3 separate regions of the Homo sapiens genome follow, and all the other regions are linked to region 3. Evidence: promoter capture Hi-C in 16 types of primary human blood cells and fetal thymus (Javierre and others, 2016). All regions are on one chromosome and are shown on one strand. The core of a region is centred on a gene start or on the middle of the fragment in contact, and the rest is flanking DNA. Distances in the headings are between cores, read along the strand shown.

Region 1 (3,273 bases), core at 739-3,238, 360 kb after region 3:
ATTGGATGGTGGTGCTTCCTGTTGACGGGGAGTGCAGGAAGAGGGGTAGCCTTGGGAAGGTTGGGAAGTGGTGAGGGCGATTCTTCTGGTTTACACAGAGTTTGAGCTCTCTAAAGGTCAGCCAAGCAAAGAGGCCCAGAGATGCATGGATTTACTCAGTGAAGAGGGCATGGTTGAGGTCACTGTGGAGAGTGTGGAGGGAGACAGTCCGGACCAGGGAGTCCCCTTGTGAGGTGGGGCGGAGGAAGCACAGCCTGGGGAAGGCAGCGGGAGTGAGTCCAGTTAGAGCAGCATTTGTCTACCAGAGCAAGGTTGGGAGATGCTTCGCAGGGAGGCCAGTTATTCTGCTAGCCTTTTACCATGCCCAGAGCAACCCCTACAGCAGAGAATCATTTGGCCCAAGAGGCCAGTGGTGTCCTGGTGGTGAAAGCCATGTGGGTAGCAGCTGTGAGTGTGCTCTTGCCGGGTCCCTATTGCCTGGTGCATGGAGGACGTGGAGTGGATGCAAGAGGTAGGAGGAGAGCCGGACAAGGAGCCGGAGCCGGAGCCACAGCCCTAGGGGCTGAGTGTGCAGCAGTGCCCAGCGGCGCTAGAGGGCTGGGCAGCTGAGGGGGCACCGTGGTCCACAGGGCTTTGCCACAAGGAGGCTCTTGTTTTGGTGCTGGGCAGGAGCGGCACTGAAGGGACACTGAGCCCAGAGCCAGGATCACCACCCAGCAGCAGGACGTGAAGCATTTAAGAGTGCCAGGTAGCCAGGAACTTAGCTGACAGAAGTCATTTTAGGCACAGTGTGTGTTCTTTTTGAAATGTAGTACCCTTTTTTTCCCTTTTCCAAGGGCATAGGGCTGAAAACAGTTCACTATTCTAATAGTATAAGGTGTTGGGCATTACTGAACCAACCTAATGTTAAGGAATAAACCTCTTTTGATCAATGGGAATTACTGTGGGTCTAAGCATCTGATTTTTGTTTGGTTTTGTTTTTAATATAAACTTAGGAAAATTGTGAGGCCGTGCCCCACAGAGCCACCGTCTATGCACAGCTGGTGGAGTCCGGGAGGATGTGGTCGTGGAACAAGCTATTTCCCATCCACGTGCAGACCAGCCTCGGAGAGCAGGTCATCGTCCCTCCCGTTGACGTGGAGAGCTGCCCTGGCGCACCCTCTGTCTGTGACATTCAGCTGAACCAGGTGTCACCAGCCGACTTTACAGTCCTCAGCGATGTGCTGCCCATGTTCAGGTACCAAGGAGCCACCATAGGTGATGGCGCTTTGAGACATTTGATGGAAGTTGGGTATTAGGAGGTTCTTTTTGAGTGGGAAGGAAATCTAGCTGCTGTCACCTGCCTCGAAGGCAAGAGTCCTTTGCAGCCAAATGTCATTGCCAGTGAAGTCACTGTAAAAGCTTAAAAAATGGAGTGTGTGAGGTTAAACTCTGCTTACATTCTTGAATATTATTCCTCAGCATAGACTTCAGCAAGCAAGTCAGTAGCTCAGCAGCCTGCCATAGCAGGCGGTTTGAACCTCTGACATCTGGCCGAGCTCAGGTGGTTCTCTCGTGGTGGGACATTGAAATGGACCCTGAGGGGAAGATCAAGTGCACCATGGCCCCCTTCTGGGCACACTCAGACCCAGAGGAGATGCAGGTAAGAGGCAGGAGCCTAGCATGTGCCCTGTCAGGAAACTTGTCCACTGCTGTTCATGGGAAAGTAACAGTTGAGCCTTGGACCCAGGAGAATTTAGAGACAGGAGGGCTGTGTCAGAATCAAAGACAAAAGTTTTTAAAAAGCAAGCAAAGGCTAGCTGTAGTAACGTAGCCTTCCCAGGGTGAGCTCATGGTGAGCACTCATGGACACAGTGAGGAACAGAGAAGTTGGCTTTCCTCTCCCGCCTCATCATGATGCAGCCACCCTTAGATACCACCCCTCATCCCCTGAGTAATCCCAGGGGGCTCCCATCAGCTTGGAATAGAGAACTACAGCCTCACCTTCTGTGGCCTCAAAATCTCCTTTCTCCACCCCGATAGAAAGTAGGCAGAGGACATGAAACACAGAAAAGGAAATACAGATGATGGGGATAGTTGCCCACTGTCCCTCATAATAAGAGAAATGCAGTTTTAGCTGCTCACAGCACCTATGCTCCCAGCCTCTCAGGAGACTGAGGCAGGAGGGTTGCTTGAACCCAGGAAGTTGAGGCTGCAGTGAGTCGGGACTGCATTACTGCACTCCCGCCTGGGCAATAAGATGAGAACCTGTCTCTAAAAAAAAAAAAAAAGAGAAATGCAACTTTAAACTGCAATGAGATCTCATTTTCACCTACTAGTGAATAAAGTTTAAACAGTTTGCAAGCACACTGTTGGGGAAGCTCAGGGAAAAAGCAGGAAAGCGAGTCATCAGAACGTTTCAGGTAGAAAGCAATGCTGCTTTCAGACATGGGGCTGTGGCTGGATTTGCGTCTGTGCAGAATAGATGTGTGCAGCCCTGGTTTAGTAGAAAAAGGCCAACCTAAAGGCCACTAGCAGGGATCAAGTCCATTATCCTTTCAGTGGGTGAGGTAGCTCTCTGTGCACTGATGTGGGACAAGCTTCAGGGTGGATTATTACCTGACACAAAAATAAAGGTGCAGAATGGTGTGTTGTGTGGCAGCACTGGTGTTAGTAAAAATAGGAATATATGTGTTTGTGAGTGGATAGTCATGTGTGGTGTACATATAAGGAGGTCTTTGGAAGAATTCCCAGAAATTCGTAAAACTGACTGCATCTGGGAATGGGGACTGGAGGTTAGGGGTGGAAAGGAAACATATTTTTTACTATGCGTCCTTGTATACCTTTTGAATTTTCTCTCATGTGCTTGTGTTATTTACACCCCCATCCACCCTCTCTCACTCTCACACTCAAAGGAAAAGAAAGTGGGAAAGGTGTGTCGGAATTGCCTGATGGGTTCTTCCCACCCACTGTTCAGACAAAACCAATTCGCTGACACCATGGCATTGCAATAAAGACTTTAATTGACACGAAGCCAGCCACACCACGTGGGGGAGAGATTTGTTACTCAAATCAGTCTCCCTGAAAATTCACAGGCTACGGTTTTTTGTTTGTTTGTTTTGAGATGGAGTTTCGTTCTTGTTGGTCAGGCTGGAGTGCAATGGCGCGATCTCAGCTCACTGCAACCTCTACCTCCCGGGTTCAAGCAATTCTCCTGCCTCAGCCCCCTGAGTAGCTGGGATTACGGGCATGCGCCACCATGCCTGGCTAATTTTGTATTTTTAGTAGAGATGG
Region 2 (3,038 bases), core at 206-2,705, 470 kb before region 3:
GCAGAGGAGTTTTTCTACCTTCCATCTGCTTCTGCATATCATCTTGTCTACTTAATGCCCCTCCTTCCGGATTTATAGAACAGTATGCATAATATGACCCCAACTGCATTCCAAAAAATAGATGTAGATGTAAGCTTAGAGATGCAAAGAAACTTTTTGAGAGAATTCACTATGCTTCTCGCGGGTGGTGACACAGTTCAAGGAGGTTCCATGGGGTGTAATGTTTATCTTTCTCTTTTGTCCTTCTGATCATTGAAATGATGCTTTGTGTGTGTGAACATGTATTACTTTTATAATTAAAATAGAAAAATTAATTTGAATGGGACAAATGCTCGAAGTCAAAGTCACCTGTTATAACTGCTGTCACTAACAGGGCAACTGTTTGAAAATGCTGCAGAAACATGAGAAATGTTCATGAAGTGACCCTGTGGAGGCTTCCGGTCACAGGATCATGTGAGCGCCACGATCACCCCAGGGGTGGAGCAGATGCTAAGTGTTCACCACACCCAATTCTCTTCCTGGACACACAGGAAGATGACATTTCCAGTGACATGCCCCACCTCTAGGCCCTAGTCTTTTTTTTATTTAAAGGTCTGAGTCTTGTTCTGTCACCCAGGCTGGAGTGCAGTGCTGTGATCATGACTCACTGCAGCCTCAACCTCCTGTGCTCAAACAATCCTCCCACCTCAGCCTCCCTAATAGCTGATGTCATATAGGCATGAGCCAGTGTGCCTGGCTCAGGCCCTACCCTTAAAAGCATCCCACCTGATTCACCAGCCCCCTTCTCTCTCTCAGTAAACTTGGAAACCACGCATTCCAGATGGTATAATTTACAGCATGATGGAAAAAGCCAGCTCTCCATGGGAAGCTGGCCAGTCTTCATTGGAGTACATTTTTATTGCATGAAGCCAATGAGACTTGATATTGTTTAACTCTGTGGTTTCCAAAGTGCGGTCCTTTTGAAGTATCCATAAAGTCTACACTAGGTTCACGGTAATATTAAGATGTTATTTGTCAGCTGGGCACGGTGGCTCACGCCTATAATCTCAGCACTTTGGGAGGCCAAGGCAAATGGATAATGAGGTCAGGAGTTTCAGACCAGCCTGGCCAACATGGTGAAACCCAGTCTCTACTAAAAATACAAAAATTACCTGGGTGTGGTGATGCATGCCTGTAATCCCAGCTACTCAGGAGGAGGCTGAGGCAGGAGAATTGCTTGAATCCGGGAGGCAGAGATTGCAGTGAGCTGAAATCTCACCACTGCACTCCAGCCTGGGTGATGGAGCAAGACACTGTCTCAAAAAAAAAAAAAAAGATATTATTTGTCTTTCATGAGTGTACAGTGGGATTTTCCAGAGGCTACATGACATGTGTTTTTTTATTTTGTTTTTTATACTGACAGAGGGGTCTTGCTATGTTGCCCAGACTGGTCTTCCAACTCCTGGCCTCAAGTGATCCTCCCGCCTTCACCTCCCAAAGTGCTGGGATTATAGGTGTGAGCCACTGCGCCTGGCTGTTTGTGACATGTGATGTTGAAACAGGTTGAGTATAGAAGCAGATATGGGAATTAAACCAGAATATTAAACCAGACATTGAAGAGATTTGCAAAAAATACAAAACAATACCACTGTTTTCACTTTCTTTTTGGTTTGGAAAAATGTAGTTATTTTTCATTAAAAGTATGTTGTGTTGGCTGGGCACAGTGGCTCATGCCTGTAATCTCAACGCTGGGAGACTGAGGTGGGAGGATCACTTGAGATCAGGAGTTCGAGACCAGCCTGACCAACATAATGAAACCCCATCTCTACTAACAATATAAAAATTAGCTGGGCTGGCTGAGCGCGGTGGCTCACGCCTGTAATCCCAGCACTTTGGGAGGCCAAGGCGGGCGGATCATGAGGTCAGGAGATCGAGACCATCCTGGCTAACATGGTGAAACCCCATCTCTACTAAAAATACAAAAAATTAGCTGGGCGAGGTGGCGGGCGCCTGTAGTCCCAGCTGCTCAGGAGGCTGAGGCAGGAGAATGGCGTGAACCCAGCGGGCAGAGCCTGCAGTGAGCAGAGATCGCGCCACTGCACTCCAGCCTGGGCGACAGCAAGACTCCGTCTCAAAAAAAAAAAAAAAAAATAACTGGGCTTGGTGGCATGCGCCTATAATCCCAGCTACTTGAGAGGCTGAAGCAGAAGAATTGCTTGCACCTGGGAGGGGCAGGTTGCAGTGAGCCAAGATCGCACCACTGCACTCCAGCCTGGGCAACAGAGCAAGACACCTTCACCTTCTCAAAAAAAAAAAAAGTTGTGTTAACATGTAATGGTTTCATGATATCATTTTAAATAAATTAATAAACATGTAAACATTTTCTCTGTTTTAATTTCTCACATGGTAAATATTAATGGTGTGAACCAAAAAGTGACTGAGGCATCTCAATCAATTTAGAGGTTTATCTTGCCAAGGTTGAGGACACGCCCGGGGAAAAAGAGACACAAGTCACAGTACGATCTGTGTCCTGTGCTTTTTCCAAAGAGGAAAGAGGCAGCAGGAGGGGAGGGAGGAAAGGGGAAAAAAGCGGGCAGGAGGGTAGGCAGGGCGGCAAGTGGTGACATTGTTGTGAGGCTGTGATTAGCAGCTCAGTGACTCTACATTTTATATGTGAAAAGGGGTCGGGGGAGTCAACTATGCATTGTCTCGGGCTTAGTAGATCTACATTTTACATAACTAAGCCTGTGAAATTACAGCTGTCCGTTTGGGAAAGGAAGGCAGTTTTTGTGGTTCCCAAGCTTAACTTTCCCTTTGACATAATGAGTTTGGGGTCCCAAGATTTTATTTTCCTTTCATAATAGATATAACCAACATGAACAAAATTCTTTAGAATCCTCAAAAATACTGAAGAGTGAAAAGACGTCATGAGACCAAAAGGTTTGAGACCCTTTGCTCTGTGACAGCTAGCCACCCTGGGACAGGCCGTTTCAATCTGGAAACACACATAGTACCTCAATTATGGGAAATTCTCTCTCTCTGTCTCTTTTTTTTTTTCT
Region 3 (3,513 bases), core at 86-2,585:
GCGTGGTGGCGAGTGCCTGTAATCCCAGCTACTCAGGAGGCTGAGGCAGGGAGAATTGCTTGAACCCGGGAGGCGGAGGTTGCAGTGAACCGAGATCGTGCCACTGTACTCCAGCCTGGGCGACAGAAGGAGACACTGTCTCAAAAATGCAAACAAACAAACAAGCAAAAAACTGCTGTTAGTCCATGTGCTATGTGAATGCCCCAAGGCCAATCCACTATGTCCTTTGTGGTTACGGCAGACCCCACACTCACCAGGGATTTTCTGGTCATTTTCTGCGTGTTTCCACAGAACCTGGGCATACATGCAGCTAGCCTGTCTTGGCCTCCAAGGCCCCACTCTCCTTAGAAACCACATGATGGCACACTGCATGCCCCATTGTATTTAGTCACCCAGAGGCTGGCTGACCCAGGTTTCTGTGACCCCAACATCCCCCAGCAGCCATGCTGTGGCACCCTGTGTGTCCCTGTGGTACCTGGGCACCCACGAGGCCGTCTCTAAGCCTGTCCAGGCTGGTCTGACCATGGCTGAAATTTCGCAGGTTAACATCCTGAAGCACATTCTTGTAACGCTGTCTCAGGACCTGGGGCAGGTCATTGTGGCTGGGGGTGTGAAGGTCAGATGGAAACACCGCCTCCAGATCAGTCAGGATATATCAGGTGCTTGGGTCTACCCTCCTCCACCCCACCAGGCACCTCCTCACACAGACCATATAGAGACCTCCTGAGGTTGGGTTGGAGGGAGGGGGTTAGATTCCACCAGGAATGGAGTAATGCGGGGAAGGGCACCCATGGGTGATGGAGGAGAGAGGGCATCCAGGGGTGGTGTGAGGGAGCCTCCTTGATAGCCTCCTTGATAGCATGCTCAGAACCTCCTCTCCTGCCCAAGGGTGTGCTCACCCCGCGTTGCCCAAACGCTGCACCTACATACCCGTCCACGAGTGGGAAACTCCGCATCAGGGCCTGCGCGCGACCCCGAAGGTCCAGGGTTTTGGGGGTGCCTGGCGTAGTGAGGCCTGGGGTAGTGAGGGCGCTGGGGACACCCGGCGTGGTGAAGAGGCTGGGGGAGCCCAGCGTGGAGAGGGCTCTGGGGGCGCCCGGCGTGGTCTCCGCGCGGGTTACGGGCTGCCGCAGCAGCAGCAGCAGTAGCAGGAGCAGCAGACGCCGCAGATACCGCCGGCTGAGCGCGCGGGAACCCTCGCGGCCCGTGGGCTGCATGTTGCGCGGGGGTCGGCCGCGGGAGCCTGGGAGGAGCAGGCGATGGGCAGAGGCCGACAATGGGGTCCGGATCATGACGACCCAGCCTCCCGAAGAGGGGGTTGAAGTCACGCGACTCTGAGACCGACGCGCCACGCAAGGGGGCGCCACGGCTTTTCCGCCCCCAAGCAGGAGAGCGCCCCCATGGGCCGGAACCGCCGCTGCAGCGTCGAGGACTCCTCGCCCTTCCACCCCCAGCGCTGGCTCCGTAGACCCCCACACGAGTGGGGGAGGAGGCCAGGCAGGGAACTAGTAGGGGCCCAGGGATCTTCCTGATCTCACCTCCTACCCAGGCCCACGTGGCGGTTAGCTGCCGGCTTGTGCCCAGCTCCTAGGCAGGTCAAATATTCTAAGCTGCGACTCAGAAGAGTTAATTCGGTCTGTCTGGTTTGATGGACAGAAAGATTCCCTATAGGTATTTCATTTCATTTCATTTCATTTCATTTCATTTCATTATTTCATTTCATCTCATTTCAGTTTTGAGACGGAGTTTGGGTCTTGTTGCCCAGGCTGGAGTGCAATGATGCAGTCTCGGCTCACTGCAACCTCCACGTCCCGGGTTCAAGCCATTTTCCTGCCTCAGCCTCCCGAGTAGCTGGGATTACAGGTGCCCGCCACCATGCCCAGCTAATTTTTGTATTTTCAGTAGAGATGGGGTTTTACCATGTTGGCCAGGCTGGCCTTGAACTCCTGACCTCAAGTGATCCTCCTGCCTCGACCTCCCAAAGTGCTGGGATTACAGGCGTGAGCCACCGTGCCCGGCCCCGAAAATGAAATTTAAGAACAATTTTTGTTGGGGATCATTATTTTAGCTTTTTTTCCTTCTCCAAGAGACAGAGTATCTGTCACCCAGGCTGGAGTTGCAGTGGGGTGATCATAGCTTGCTGCAGCCTTGATCATAGCTTGCTGCAGCCTTGAACTTCTGAGCTCAAGCGATCCTCCTTCCTCCACCTCCCAAGTAGCTGAGACTATAGGTGCAGTGCCACCATGCATGGCTAATTGTTATTTTTTATTTTATTAAAACAAATTTTTTTTTGAGACAGGGTCTCACTGGAGTGCAGTGGCACCATCTCAGCTCACTGTAGCCTCGACCTCCCAGGTAAAAGTGATCCTCCTGCTTCAGCTCCCTAAGTAGCTGGGAGGGACTACAGGCATGCACCACCATGCCCAGCTAATTTTTGTATATTTGCATTTTTTTTTAGAGACAGGGTTTTACCATGTTGCCCAGACTGGTCTTGAACTCCTGAGCTCAAGCGATCTGCCCACCTAGGTCTCCCAAAGTGCTAGGATTACAGGCATGAGCCACCACGTCCGGCCTTATTTCTTTTTTAGAGACGTGGTTTTTTTTTTGAGACGGAGTCTCACTGTGCCACCCAGGCTGGAGTGCAGTGGCTCCATCTCTGCTCACTGCAAGCTCCGCCTCCCGGGTTCATGCCAGTCTCCTGCCTCAGCCTCCCGAGTAGCTGGGACTACAGGCGCCCACCACCATGCCCAGCTAATTTTTTGTATTTTTAGTAGAGACCGGGTTTCACCGTGTTAGCCAGGATGGTCTTGATCTCCTGACCTCGTGATCCGCCCACCTTGGCCTCCCAAAGTTCCGGGATTACAGGCGTGAGCCACCGCACCGGGCCGAATATTTTTTTCTATATATATGTTAGTATACAGACACAAAAATGAGAGGTGACAGCGTGCTGGCAGCCCTCACAGCCCTCGCTCCCTCTCGGCACCTCCTCGGCCTTGGCGCCCACTCTGGCCGCGTTTGAGGAGCCCTTCAGCCCGTCGCTGCACTGTGGGAGCCCCTTTCTGGGCTGGACAAGGCTGGAGCCGGCTCCCTCAGCTTGCGGGTAGGTGTGGAGAGAGAGGCGTGGGCGGGAACCGTGGCTGCAGGCTGCGCTTGCGGGCCAGCTCGAGTTCCGGGTGGGCGTGGGCTTGGCAAGCCCCGCACTCGGAGCGGCCAGCCGGCCCGGGCAGTGAGGAGCTTAGCACCTGGGCCAGCAGCTGCTGTGCTCGACTTCTCGCTGGGCCTTAGCTGCCTCCCCGCCGGGCAGGGCTCGGGACCTGCAGCCCTCCATGCCTGAGCCTCCACCCCCGCCGTGCGCTCCTGTGCAGCCCAAGCCTCCCCGACGAGCGCCAACCCCTGTTCCACGGCGCCCAGTCCCATCGACTGCCCAAGGGCTGAGGAGTGCGGGCACACGGCGCCGGACTGGCAGGCAGCTCCACCTGCGGCCCCGGTGCAGCATCCACTGGGTGAAGCCAG

Evidence for each region. Contacts are between HindIII fragments. The CHiCAGO score rates a contact against its expected background, and 5 or more counts as called.
Region 1: a contact is called between a fragment that was not itself captured here and the fragment with the promoter of DPEP3 in region 3, in 1 of 17 cell types (fetal thymus). The highest score is 5.3, in fetal thymus.
Region 2: a contact is called between a fragment that was not itself captured here and the fragment with the promoter of DPEP3 in region 3, in 1 of 17 cell types (naive B cells). The highest score is 5.1, in naive B cells.

What each region holds. Positions count from the first base shown.
Region 1 is chr16:68,338,327-68,341,599 of GRCh38, forward strand. It overlaps PRMT7 (protein arginine methyltransferase 7), which reads left to right. Exons shown (of 19, transcript NM_019023.5): 8 at 996-1,237; 9 at 1,462-1,642. Among named protein-coding and RNA genes, the nearest start is that of PRMT7, 29 kb to the left of the region's middle. The HindIII fragment of the contact is 1,178 bases long and covers 1,400-2,577 here.
Region 2 is chr16:67,504,047-67,507,084 of GRCh38, forward strand. ATP6V0D1-DT (ATP6V0D1 divergent transcript) reads left to right here. Exons shown (of 4, transcript NR_184227.1): 4 at 1-2,357. Among named protein-coding and RNA genes, the nearest start is that of AGRP, 22 kb to the left of the region's middle. RefSeq lists an enhancer at 682-791. The HindIII fragment of the contact is 2,646 bases long and covers 133-2,778 here.
Region 3 is chr16:67,979,164-67,982,676 of GRCh38, forward strand. It overlaps DPEP3 (dipeptidase 3), which reads right to left and starts at 1,336. Exons shown (of 10, transcript NM_001370198.1): 1 at 931-1,336; 2 at 476-602. The coding sequence starts at 1,217. RefSeq lists an enhancer at 660-1,160. The HindIII fragment of the contact is 6,110 bases long and covers 1-3,513 here.